2 separate regions of the Homo sapiens genome follow, and region 2 is linked to region 1. Evidence: promoter capture Hi-C in 16 types of primary human blood cells and fetal thymus (Javierre and others, 2016). All regions are on one chromosome and are shown on one strand. The core of a region is centred on a gene start or on the middle of the fragment in contact, and the rest is flanking DNA. Distances in the headings are between cores, read along the strand shown. Region 1 holds the start of RAB24 (RAB24, member RAS oncogene family). Region 2 overlaps HNRNPH1 (heterogeneous nuclear ribonucleoprotein H1).

Region 1 (6,742 bases), core at 4,243-6,742:
GAAATCTTTCATCTTAGAAAACTTCTGGTCCTTAACGCAGGGTGGTATTTGGGTATGTGCTTGGAAATTGAGATCTCAAGAGTGTTTGCCTTGGAGCCAGCTCCCCAGGAGGCCTTTTCCAGGGACAAGGCAAAAGTTGAAATTCTCCATGGGTAGCTAGAAAGCCAATACATCTAGCCCTGCTAAGTCAGAAAAAGATTATGAAAAATGTTGAAATTTACATTCAAAGCCTCATTTGCTTATCTTGCTGGAGCCAACCCAGTCTAATAGCAAAATAGCTGTCATTGATACAGAAACATCCTCATTTTTAAATGTCTGCTTTACCCTGTTACTGAGTTTGAGATGACTTAAATCACTGTGTTGACCCTCTTCTGAACCAAATCTTTAGCATTGATGAAAATAGTTATTTTATTCTTTACATCCTTCACCCCACACTATGGTCAGGGCATGAAACACCCTGTTGATCCCTTCCCAGGCTCGGCACTGTCTGCTCACTGGAGCCGGACTCCCAGGTTGTAATTCTAATGTTGCCTCATGAGAACAGAATGGCAGAAAGTTTAGTCCTGACAGATTCCCCCATAGGGAGTAATGAGGACAGCATGAAACTTGGATAGGTTTTACCCTTAGTCCCTATAAGGTGGATTTTACTAAGGTTTTTTAAATGATACTGTCATCCTCTTGGGGTTTATCAGCCAGGTTAGAGGAGCCCAGTGTCCTAACCTCTCTCAGATCATGGCAGAGAAGGAGCTGCCTCCAGCCCCTTTCTTGCTGAGTTTCATTTGAGCAGTTCCATGTGTAGACATTCCAAGTCACTGCTTGGTAGTTGCTGTGGGAGCCTGTCATTGGCTATGGCCAGTTAGTTCTCAGCTGAGCTTCCTAGGGCCAGTGCAACAGGGCCAGAGGCTGCTATAGTGTAAATTGAAATAAGAATAGATCATTGTTTTGTACACACACACAATAAAATGTAATGATGGTGCTAATTTCACGGTATAAATAAGCACTGCCAAGGGTTGAGGGACTGGCAGCTCAAGAAACCCGGGTTCCTGTTTGGGAGGAGATTTTATGTAGAAAAGTTTGAGGCTTTGTTAAAAGTGGGGAGAAGGAAGATCCTCAGTGAAGCCTGCACCCAACCCTGGAGTGGCCCAGTGCAATCCAGAGGTGGAAGAGATCCTATATCCAGGTGAAGGTGGCCATTGAGTTTCTCAGGGCTGGGGCCACCTTGTCCATAGCCTCCGTCCACGCTGCCTGGAGCAGGTTGTTAGAGAGCTCTGGTTGTTGGGTCTTCCTCAGCTCCCTTCTGCCCCTCTCTACCTCTTCCACTCATGGAAGCCCCTCTACTGCTTATGAAGATTAAGGGTAGTATTTTCTAAGGAAGTGGAAAGAATTAAACTAGAAATCCACAACCTCGGAAGAAGTGTTTCGAGTTTAACATGCGCTGTTTCTGCTTATGTGGTTCCTTCTCTAGAGCTGCTTTCCCATGGCTTTCAAAACATCAGGTTATTGTGGGGCTTCAGGTGTAAGGTCCTGGAAGTTCAGCAAAGTTTCGTGGACAAGACATGGGCACAGAGAGTAGAAGCAGAAATAAATGGTTCTATGTTTTCAACTTCCAGGGTTGGGGCAGGCCAGAGCAAGGCGGTCTCATCGAGGTGGGTGCTACCTGTGTGTGTGTAGATGAGTGTGCTGAAGGTGGGGAGGGCAGCACACAGCAGCTCATGGCAGAGCCGCCTCCTAGGTCTTGGCAAAGAGGCAAGCTGACGATAGACATCTACCTATATTGTTAAGAAAGGGGTCGGGGGGATCAGCCAAGGTCCATCATTGCTTTTTTGCCGCGCCCCCCCCCCCCCGCCCCCATAGATTGTCAGCTGTAAGTGAAACTCCTAGTGAAAAAGAGGGGAGCCCTGTGTTAGGAGTCCCCATAAACATGTACTGTAATTCTTTGTATATAGAAAAAAAATTTACTGTAAAGTAAAGTTTAACTTTACTCATATATGGCCCTTGCCCTGTGTTTTGTTTTATTGGCTGTGGGGAGTTGTAGTCTAACAGGAGGGAGGATTGTTTGGGGTGAGAGCAGAAGCCAGCCCCAGAGATAGTACGAGGTGGGGGGCGGGGGGCGCAGGGATACTGTGAAGCTAAGCCCTTCCTCCAAGCACGTCATGGGAATAGTGTGTTTCCTCTCAGCAGCCACAGGGCTGCCCAAGCCTCTTTCTCCCTCTGTTGGGAGTGGCTGGTTTCAGTTTCAGTCTCCCTCCACAGGAAGCCCCCATCACTCATGAAGGAAGGGCAGTTTGAGGAATTGGTTTTTAAAAAGGAAGTGGAACCAAAGCACTCTCTGAGTGTGAGTCTGACCATGTTGGCTAAGTTGTACATTTTTCCAAGGCAGGTGTTGGCCACTGCAGAGGACTCAGCCCAGGCCTAAATAAAGGCAGGAAAGCAGAGGCAAAGGATAAAACTAAGGGAAAGCCCCTGGCCTGGGGCCACACCCTCCATACCAGAAAGGGCTGCAATAAATTTCCTTCTGGTTGAGCAGCAAGTGTCAGCCCTGTTTACAGTTAACACCTGATTCCTCAGAAATATCTGGATCTTCTTTGGGGAAAACTTGGGAGTTTGCTTCCCTTTGTGACCTAGTCCTGAACTTCCTGCCCTTTCAGCAAAAAGTGCTTGGGAAGATTGGGAAAAACATTTAGTACTAGAGTTACTCTTCACTTTCTTCACAATCCTTGGGCTGCATAGTAGTCACCTTATTTTACAGATGAGAAACTCAAGATGAGGATTTAAGTCCCTTTTCTAAATTAGCAGCTGAATTGGAACCAAATCTGGATCCATTAGACCTTTCTGGCTTACAGAACTTAGGACTTTCCTACCATTAAACCACATTGTAGGATGTCACTGGGAAGCTCAGGACCTGAGTCACAGGTCTGACATAGGGGCCCAAACATGACAGATGCAGTAGAGCTAGTCAGACCAACCTGTCTCAGGTAGGAATGCTTGACCCTTTTATTTCGAAGCAACTCATGCACTCTTTTCAGCACTCAGAAGGAACTGTGAGCTTTTATACTACTACAGCCCCAGTATCTCAGCGGTAACCATGGGGAAAAAAGTCTTGTTTTCCAAAGGAAAATGAGAGTTGGGAGGAGCCTTAATATAAGCAGTGAGGCCAGCCGGGTGGCCCCAGGAAGAACTAGGTGTCTTGACACCTAATCCACACAGCAGGGAAAGGGGCTGGGTGTGATGCACAGTGCACTGATTTTATTTACAGATCAAAAGCCACTTAAATAATCTGCAGACACAAGTGCTGTCCAGGGCAGAAGCCTGGGGTCCAAATCAGCCTTATCCCTCCTCATGCCCACAGTCAGCCCAATGCTGTCTCCGTTCCATGGGCCAGCACAGGCAGGCGCCACTCTGCTGACATGAGGACCTGGGGTAGCTCAGACATTTGACTACCCAAGCCCAGAAAGGAGCTGGGTCCAGCCCTTACGGGGAATTCCTTTAATTCCCCCAGGCCAGGTGAGTGCTGACTCAGTGATGACAACAGCTGTAGAAGTAGGGGTTTGGCTTCTGGCCCAGATCCACGCCCTTGTCCTCTGTCAAAAAGAGAGGTGGCAGCTCAGCACCATTCTGTTGGGATCAGGTAACTCAGGAAAGGGGCTAGATGCTGTGGGCCTAGAGTAAGTCTCCATAAAGGCTGGGGAAGCACACACCTGTCATCACCTGGAAGGCAGCCACACTGACGTAATCCTCTGCCACTTTCTGGAAGAGCTCGTCTGGCAGGAAAAATGATGATCAGCGAGGGCCCAATGCCAGTAGCCCTGGGATCTCCCAGTGACCCAGCCCTCTGTGCCCTATTCAGCTTCCTCTGGTGCCCCTGCATGTTCCTGCTGTGAGGCTCCAGCACAGCACTCACCCACACTCTGGCCTGTCTTGCTGGATGTTTCAAAGAGCTGAGCTTTGATATCTGTAAAGAGAAGTGACTAAAGCCTCATACCTGAGAATTAGATAAACAGACAAAAGGGAGGGCTAGCAGTTCAGGGAGTCTCCTGGACCCCACAGTTCAAGGAGGCCAGGAAGACCTCCTAGAGCACCTTGCCCTGGCAGCCAAGGCAGTCCCTATTTTCTTTGATCCACCCAGACAGCCACACACCCCCACCCCCCAAAGGGCTGAGGAGCAGCTACTGTCTGCATAGTCCTGGACGTCGTGGAAGTCCACACGTCGACGCCTCCGGTCTTCTTCCAGCAGGTCACTCTTGGTGCCACATAAGTAGATTTGGCAGCCCTGAGGCAGAAGACAAGGGTCACCTCCACAGGCCAACAAAACCCCAGCCCCTAGTGTTCTAGTGAGGTCTGTTCACCTACCTCCTCTAGGCTGCGCAGTTCCTTCACCCAGAACTTTGCTCGCTCAAAGCTGCTGCTGTCTGTGAGGTCTTGGTGTGCGGCATGCAGGAGACAACCAAGTGGTCAAGGGCTGTTCTCTGGCTAGCCTGGCACCCATCTTTTCTTGTGAGACAGCCCAAACCCCCCCCCCCCTTACCATAGCAGACGATGGCAGCCTTGGCACCCCGATAGTAGATTCTACTCATGGCCTCATAGCGCTCAGAGCCTGCTGTGTCCTAAAGAGTAAGGCCTGAGTCAAACTTAAGGCCACGTTCTCCAGACCCCGCTATTTTCCAGATAAGGAAACGGGTCTATGAGAAATGGGTCTGTGAGGCCACAAATCAACCAGTAATAGGCAGGACCTACACCTCCTCAGGAATGAGTCTCCCAAGAATAGATGGCCGGGGGACTTACCCAAATACCTAATGTCACAGTCCGGTCTCCGACCGACATCACCTTGGCCACGAAGGCGGCCCCGATGGTCTGCAACGAGAGGGAAGAGATCGGGGCCATAGGTGCAGATTACCGGCCCCCCACTCCCCCGCCCACCGTGCCTGGCCCCTCCGGATGCACTCACGTTCTGATAAGGCCCCACCAGAAAGCGGTCGTGCACGTAGCGCTCCACCAGGCTAGTCTTGCCCACGTACTCCTTGCCCAGCATCACCACCTTGACGTCCACGCGCTGCCCGCTCATGCTCCCGGGGCCGCTTCAGCCACGTCAGGGTCCTGAGCGGGGACGGGAGGCAAACCCCGATCTCCGCTCGGCCCAGGCAGCGCCCAAGCCTCAGACCCCGACCCCAAACGGCGCCAACCTACGACTCCAGACAGCGCGTCGGGCTCGAGCTCTGGCCGTGGCCTTGCACTTCGGCAGCGCCCCGTGTGCCCCCGCTGTTCGGCCCCGGGCGCCGATTATCCTTCGAAGACCCCAAGCCTCGGGGCGGCCTGGGAGCGCGCGGGACAGCGTCCTCAACAGCGCAGCACGCCGCCGTGCAGCTCGCTACTCCGTCATTCGCTCGCCTGCCCGGCTTAAGCTCCGTTCTGGCTGGGAATCCCAACCGAACCTGGGGTCTCCCGCAACCCGGCTCCTACCCGCAGCGCCGCGACTCCCGCGGGAGGGGGCTAGAGGGCGAGGGGGCGGGGCCGCAAGGTCACGTGGCGCGGGCGCCGGAAGCGGTGGCTACTGTGTGGCTGCGCCGGAAGTGGCGCGCGGCCGGACAACTCATGGCGGCGGCGGCGGCGGCGGCAGCTGCTTGGGCGCGGTGCGGTGGTGACTGAGCTACGAGCCTGGCGGCGGGTGTGCGCCGAGCCCCGGCCCGGCCCGGCCCTCGCGTGCCTCCCAGGCTCCGCACCCCTGATGCTGCGCGGGTGCTGAGCCCGCTTCGGCCGGGACGATGGTGAAGTATTTCCTGGGCCAGAGCGTGCTCCGGAGTTCCTGGGACCAAGTGTTCGCCGCCTTCTGGCAGCGGTACCCGAATCCCTATAGGTACGTGGTATTTGGAAGAGCAAAACCGCGCCATCTCGCTATCTGGAGATCGAATTATGGGTAACCCCCAAGTACTGGGACCAGGAAGGACTCGATATCGAATCCTAGGTAGACCTTATCGGGGAAGCGGCCAGGCCAGGCCTGCAAGGTCCTGAAGGGAGGTTGGGCCTGGGTGGTGGTTTACTTGAGACCTTAGTGTAAGATTCTTTTCTCAGTGTGGTGAGACAAGAAGAGGCGGCAGTATGGGAGTTGGGAGGGATCTTGGAGTTGGAAATCCTATTTCTCTGCCCGTGGCGCTTTCCTGGGGTGCAATAAATCATGAGGTCCATTCCTGCTAGAAGGCAGGAATCCAGGTCAGTCAGATGGCGGGAGTGGGAATTTGCCCTGGGATGGGCCCTTAACTCTGGTTTGAACCATAGCACATACCACCCTGCAAGGTTACGGGAAGGCGTGGCCTCTCTAGGCCCGGAGCCTCCAAATGGGAATCCCCTCGGGCAGTCTCTTAGGGGCAAGCTTCTGAGGGTCACCTTCACCCTGACACCTGCAGCAAACATGTCTTGACGGAAGACATAGTACACCGGGAGGTGACCCCTGACCAGAAACTGCTGTCCCGGCGACTCCTGACCAAGACCAACAGGATGCCACGCTGGGCCGAGCGACTATTTCCTGCCAATGTTGCTCACTCGGTGTACGTCCTGGAGGACTCTATTGTGGACCCACAGAATCAGACCATGACTACCTTCACCTGGAACATCAACCACGCCCGGCTGATGGTGAGACACCTCCTGTTGTGATTCTGCACCTCCCCCTCTCCCCTCCCCCCGAGATAGAGAGCTCCTCAGATACATGTGGCTAGAGAGCCATAAGGCAGCTTTTGTGGCCGGAGGCAGG
Region 2 (6,345 bases), core at 1,193-3,692, 2.3 Mb after region 1:
TAAGGAACTTCATAACTCACAAGGATTTAAGTAAGCCAGATACAAAACTCAAATATCAAGAAACTGCTTTGCCTAAGTTTCTTATGCTAAACTTATTAAATAAATAGATTAACTTAACTTATAATTGACTTATACAGATATAAACGTTTTGGTTTTTAAAAAAACTAACGATATTTACACAAGCCCATGCCTCCCATCATTTGGCTACCATAAGCACCACCGCTTGCTCCTGCTGTAGAATTCAAGAAGAGTTCTACATATCTGTGTTCTGAAATGAGAGAAAAGGCATACAAGGTTAGCTTAAAAAAAAGACACTAAAGTGATATTTACACAAACCCATGCCTCCTAGCATTTGGCTACCGTAAGCACCACCGCTTGCTCCTGCTGTAGAATTCAAGAAGAGTTCTACATATCTGTGTTCTGAAATGAGAAAAAAAAAGTTTGAAAATGTTTGTTGGTGAAACAAAACAGAATAAGCACTTTTATAAAGTTTTTAAACAAGCAGATCTGTGAACTTCAAATACTTTGGCAAAGAAATTCTAGCTACTTCTCTTAGGTGATCTACTTTAACTCCAAAATCTAGCCTTTACATATTCATCTGTATTGTCAATTAAGGATATACACTTCAAGATGTGCATATCACAAATCCGTTATACTAATTTTTAAAACCCAAACCTTCAACACACTGCCCCCGCATCCCCCAAGAATTAATCTATTACTGGAGAGGAAACTTCTCATATATCCTTATTTTTCCATTTCTCTATTGTAAATGTTAGTCACACAATCACCTGTTAAGAGCCCACAAATGCTCAATCACACTTACGCATATTTGCTTTGTCTTTTGACATAGCTGCCACAGCATCTTCATGAGTTGCGAACTCGACATCTGCTTCACCAGTTACTCTGCCATCAGGACCAATTTCAATGTGTACTCTCACAGGGTTGAGCGGTGAAAAAAACTACAACACAAGGCATTTCAAAGAATTCAACCAACTTTCTAACGTTACAAAAAAAACCTAAAATTTCTAACATAGTGCTCACATTTATAGAATAAGGCTGACTTACTGCCATACTGAAATATTGACTTGTGAGTTCATCTCACACTTACATTATAAATGTCATTCTCAGTAGCTCTGTAAGGTAATCCCCGCATGTGTACACAGTGTCCTGTTGTGCTCTGGAAAGTAGAGCCACCATCCCCGTATCTGTGATCAGACATTCCTGAAAAACAGTAATTGAGGTCTAGATGGACAAGAGTGTAAGCATCCTTCAACTGAGAAATTCAATTCTTACCTTACCTCTTCCAAATCTATCTGACCCAAATCCATAGCCATCATTATAGCCATTGTAATCATCATAGCCTCCATAGCCTGAAAGACAAAGTACAATCAATCAAATAAAACACCTAGACAAAGGAACAGACGACTTGCCGAACCTTACGAATCCTCACGTACCTCCACCATAAGCACCACGCCTCATCCTCTCAAAGCCAGCTCCTCTGCCAATGCTGTTATACCCTCTACCAGCCCCAGGTCTGTCATAAGGACCTGGCCGCTGCATGGCCATAAGCTTTCGTGGTGGATCATAATGAGTTCTAACTTCAGCTCTACTGCTCTTAAAGATTTCAATATACCTAAAGCATTGTTCATAAGGAAGGGGTAGGGAGGGGAGAGAAAACATTAGTTCATTTTATACAGGTATTTAGTTATACAAGAAAACAATCTAGTCATAGCCATGAAACTGACTAATATTTAAAGCCAGATTTCTTATATTTGCATAGGCAATGACCAGAAATTCACTCAATAAATAGTAAGACAATGTAAACTTTATAGAAAAAAAAAAAAAACTCACTCCTCTGAGGCAGAGCCCAACCTTAGGGGTAGAGAGGAGTACTGTAAATAAATGTTTTAGGAGGGAAATAATTCCACTCAACTTTCAACATTTCAAGTCTTAAATCCATTGGCAGCATGTATAGCAAGTGGGCTAAAAAGCCAGCCTCCACCAACAGTCCAGCCCACACTACACATTTCCTTTCGCCAATAAATACCCCAGCCTATGCTTTTAGTAAGAATCAGCATAGGTAAGCGCATGCTTCAATGAAAAATAGTCACAAGCAAAGAGAATAAAACCTTTTGTGACAATTTCTTGAAAGCTATGCTTATTAATACTATGCAGAATATTTATATACAGCAAGAAAAAGTTTGTTGCATTTCAACTTTAAAAACAAGATCAGAAAGTATCACATTTTCTTATGGTAATATTAATTTATTCTAGGTGGGTGTTATTACAGCTAAAGCCAGGTTTGCATTAATTTTTTAAAGCCATAGTCTCTCAACTCTATTGATTGGGGTTAATAAGACTCACAAAATTGTCAAGCAGACCAATTAACTAGGGACAAATTTCAAACCTAAAATTTAGTTTGCGTGTAACGTGGGACTGACACAAGTTTGGAAATCATGGCAAAACATCAATTACCTAGGACTACAAAACATTAATTTCTTCTTTTAAGCAGAGAGAATATGGATTTAATTGTTTACCATAAGAAAAGTGACATATCCAACCAACCATCCATCCCCACCTGTGCCCTATTCTTTCCTTGTGTTTCTTTAGAGCCTTTTCAGCTATTTCCTGTGAAGCAAACTGCACGAAGGCCTCCCCCGTACTCCTCCCCTGGAAGTCCACCGGCAATGTTATCCCATTTGGCACGATTTCCAACCCTTCAACCCAAGGACAAATAACCCCAGTAGGGGGGCAATATTAACATCACAAGCCCAGAAATGATTCTTCTTATAGCTTTAAATAAACCAGAATTTTTAACTTTAGGTGAATGGTATGCTTTCAACAAGTACTCTTTAAATATGCATTGCAATAATATGAAGTTCCATTATTATAAAGTATAACTATTCTTAACACACCCATGGTACAGTATATATTAAAAAAAACTTGCTGAACACAGGATGCATTAAGAATTCAACAACTTAAGAACACATATCTATGCAACTTAATGTTGAGAATTATACAATTCAATTAAGTTTTAAGCATTAAATAACAGTTTTACTAAATTCAAAACACCTTTTACCTCATTTTATATTTCAATGCTTTAAGTTATTGGAACTTCAAGTTTTTAAAAAGGTATACATTTACAACATTTCATATAAAAACTGAAACATTAAATTATAATTGACAAACACAACAATCTAAACTTTCAACAAAACTGATCTACACAGCACAATCATGCATGCTTATGCTCTAACAGTAGTTATGATTCACTTCTGGAAATTCCGTCTATGAAAAATCCTTTCCGTGGATACATTCCCAAGCTTACAAAAAGGACTTAAAGCACTTTCCTAGAAGATATGAAATTATGTTCATATTTAACGTTGACAGCATTCAATTCTCACCAATTTAGTGTCAAAACAAAACAGACTTGATTTTAAAAATTCTGACATTAGGACTCGATACATATATCAATTTTTAACATACTACACTAAACCATGAAAGGATTTCCTGCTTCCAGCGTATCACATCATAAATATTAATACTTAAAATATACGATATCTTATCTAACATTGTTAAACATGCAATCTTATCAGCTCTTCAGCATAAAAACATTCAAATACTTTAGGCCCAGGAACAATTTCAAAACACTTATTTCAGATACTGAGACTACAAGCATTCAAACTACTCTCACTACATCTGATTTTCAGTAAGTTTATACCACACAGGTTAAACCAAGTCTTTCATAAACCGACTTTTGCATTAAAGAGAATTAGACCATTAGATGCTTCTGGTCACATGACCCAAATACGTGTCTCTTGCAACACAGACACTTGCCATAATTTACAACAACCTAATTCATCGCACTGATGATCTGCTGGTAAAGGGATCTTACCTTTAACTTGAGGTACTTAGCTGGACACCAATGTGAGGAAAGTAGTTAAGCTGTTGAGGGCAATCCTCAATGAAAGATCTACTCTGAACTATAATACTAAATATAGGCAAAGTTAACATTTTGGAAGTACTTCATTTCCACCTTTAAGATGGGCTTAAATTATTTGAAGGTCTCTAGGAAGAAAACATTAATTCATTGGCAATTTACAACCTACTGAAATACCTAAGCTACTCAACTTTAACGTCTATTAAATCACCTTGCCATAAGCTAGCCAAAACTCACTGCTCAGCAACAAACATGACTACATACCTGAGAAGAACTGAACAATTTCTTCCTTGCTACATCCAAAGGGAAGTCCTCTAAGCCGTACAAAGCCATCATTGGCCGTGTCAGGACTATTTGGACCAGTATGCTTCAACACCCAATCCATTTCAACGTTGTTTGACTTGAATACTGAAAGAGGTGCTTAGAATTAGTCACTTTTGGAAAATTAGATAACAAAGTTCAGACTTCCTGGGTCTTTAGATAAGCTAGGAAGAGCTGCCACAAACTCCCTTAGATGACCATTTCCATGCAGTCAAATACCTAAAATTCAGAAGGGGTGAGACCTCTATTGTTTAATGCTTTATTTACTGTAACTAGGGCAATGTAAATCAAACCTTCAACATATCTGTGTCCCATAGTTTCTCTGTCTTTTTTCAGGGCCAATTTGACTTCATCTTCTGATTCAAGTTCAACAAAAGCCTCGCCACTTGGTCTGCCTTCTCTGGTGTAGATGAAACGAATACCTTGAGCCCCATTTTGAATTTTGCAGTCTGGAAAGAAAACAACCGTTAATACAGAATTTAAAACCTAAAACCACCTCTGGGTGACACAGATGAAATGTCTATTCCATGTCCCCACTACAAATTACATAACTTGTGAAGCCTATATATACTGACCACGATATTACCAACTCCTAAAACTCCAATTAAAAAAAAACAAACTCATTCCTAAGGTGATATATTTCCAACCCATCAACAACATACAATATTCAAAGCAGTTTCAGAATGAATTTATCTCTTTAGTCCTTGCTACTCATGTCTACATCACACATCTTTTATCAATTTCTCAGAAGATTATCAAGCCTGGACTGTGTGACTTTACGGCAAACATACTTCGTTGCGAGCTGTTTTGGTCTGGGGCATTTATCCGTTTTACCTTACCAGTAGCCACATTACGGTTTCTCATTCAAATTCAAATTACAAGCCCAATACTCACCTGAAAGGGGATCAGTGTTACCAAGCTAAAATGCTCCAAGTTGCACAGCTGAAGCCAAACCCAGTGTTGCCCCCTGCAAGGCGGCTTCCAGCGTACTTGGTTCTTGTTTTACAGGTCGCTTTCCGTTACCAACGCTAAATTCAGATAGTAAGTCAATACTACAAACGTCTTGCCAAAAGCTGTTAATTTCATCCAAATAGAATTTTAATCAGTCTAATTTCTTTTTCCCAGTCTAATAATAGGAACAAGGACATTCTGATAGAAAATATTCAGGAAACCTATGTACTGCAAAAACACTTCCCTGGGCTTCAGTGTCTTCAACTGTATAGTGAGCCAGATTAAGAACTAGATAAGAAAACACTCTTCAATTATCAAATCTTGATTAGGAAAACTGAAATTAAGACGTGACATTTTAACTTTCCGAAGAATGCTCCTTTTTAAGAAAACACCAAAACTGGAAACAAGAGGTTACACTTCAAGATATTGCAAAACATTACTATTATTTGTCTAATCACTCGGCCATTTTCTCAAGATTGAGGAGGAAATCCCACCTATGCCAATTTATCCTTTCGAAAAAAGACACCCGGGCCAGGCGCGGTGGCTCACGCCTGTAATCCCAGCATTTTGGGAAACCGAGGTGGGCGGATCACTTGAGGTCAGATGTTCGAGACCAGCCTGGCCAAAATAGTGAAACCCCGTCTCTACTAAAAATACAAAAATTAGCCGGGCGTGGCGGTGCGCGCCTCTAGTCCCAGACACTCGGGAGACTGAGGCAGGAGAATCGCTTGAACCCAGGAGGCGGAGGTTGCAGTGAGCCGAGAACGCGCCACTGCACTCCAGCTTGGGTGACAGAGACTCCAACTCAAAAGAAAAAGAAAAAAAGACACCCATAAAAGAAAAGCTGGTGTTCAAAGATAGGTAAAGAAAACAAAGTCTGCCAAACCTGCCGCACTCCCCCAAGGGCCAGGAGGACGGGCGGGGCTTTCGAAATTTCCATTGCGTAACAGCGGGCCGCCGGGCGCGAGCAGCACAGCGGTGAGTGTAGTCGCCCGCGCCTCGCCAGGGGGCGCCCCGGGTCCCACCCGGCCCGGCCCGGCCCGGCCCGCCCCGCCCCGCCCCGCCCCAGCCCGGCCGCCCGCCAGCCCGCCCGCCCCGGCCTCGAACTCGAACTCCCGCGTCCTAGTTCTAACTCA

Evidence for each region. The method cuts DNA at HindIII sites, captures the fragments that hold promoters and counts their contacts. A CHiCAGO score of 5 or more calls a contact.
Region 2: a fragment that was not itself captured here is called in contact with the fragment with the promoter of RAB24 in region 1 in 1 of 17 cell types (non-activated CD4 T cells); the score reaches 5.9 in non-activated CD4 T cells.

The regions. Positions count from the first base shown.
Region 1 is chr5:177,298,227-177,304,968 of GRCh38, forward strand. It overlaps RAB24 (RAB24, member RAS oncogene family), which reads right to left and starts at 5,493. Exons shown (of 8, transcript NM_001031677.4): 1 at 4,946-5,493; 2 at 4,783-4,851; 3 at 4,526-4,604; 4 at 4,351-4,418; 5 at 4,171-4,270; 6 at 3,902-3,952; 7 at 3,699-3,761; 8 at 2,972-3,581. The coding sequence starts at 5,062. The coding sequence ends at 3,517. PRELID1 (PRELI domain containing 1) reads left to right here and starts at 5,573. Exons shown (of 5, transcript NM_013237.4): 1 at 5,573-5,851; 2 at 6,399-6,624. The coding sequence starts at 5,760. It overlaps NSD1 (nuclear receptor binding SET domain protein 1), which reads left to right. Exons shown (of 23, transcript NM_022455.5): 23 at 1-1,987. RefSeq lists enhancers at 3,184-4,383, 5,548-6,425, 6,064-6,163, 6,274-6,323, 6,344-6,403 and 4 more and silencers at 2,161-2,354, 5,384-5,453, 5,504-5,583, 5,694-5,833. The HindIII fragment of the contact is 8,255 bases long and covers 1-6,362 here.
Region 2 is chr5:179,616,691-179,623,035 of GRCh38, forward strand. HNRNPH1 (heterogeneous nuclear ribonucleoprotein H1) reads right to left here. Exons shown (of 14, transcript NM_001257293.2): 3 at 4,552-4,707; 4 at 4,202-4,345; 5 at 2,579-2,717; 6 at 1,455-1,633; 7 at 1,299-1,370; 8 at 1,109-1,242; 9 at 824-959; 10 at 361-420; 11 at 179-268. The region is part of intron 4 of LOC128966623 (a long non-coding RNA gene); the gene reads left to right. Among named protein-coding and RNA genes, the nearest start is that of HNRNPH1, 3.8 kb to the right of the region's middle. The HindIII fragment of the contact is 1,751 bases long and covers 1,568-3,318 here.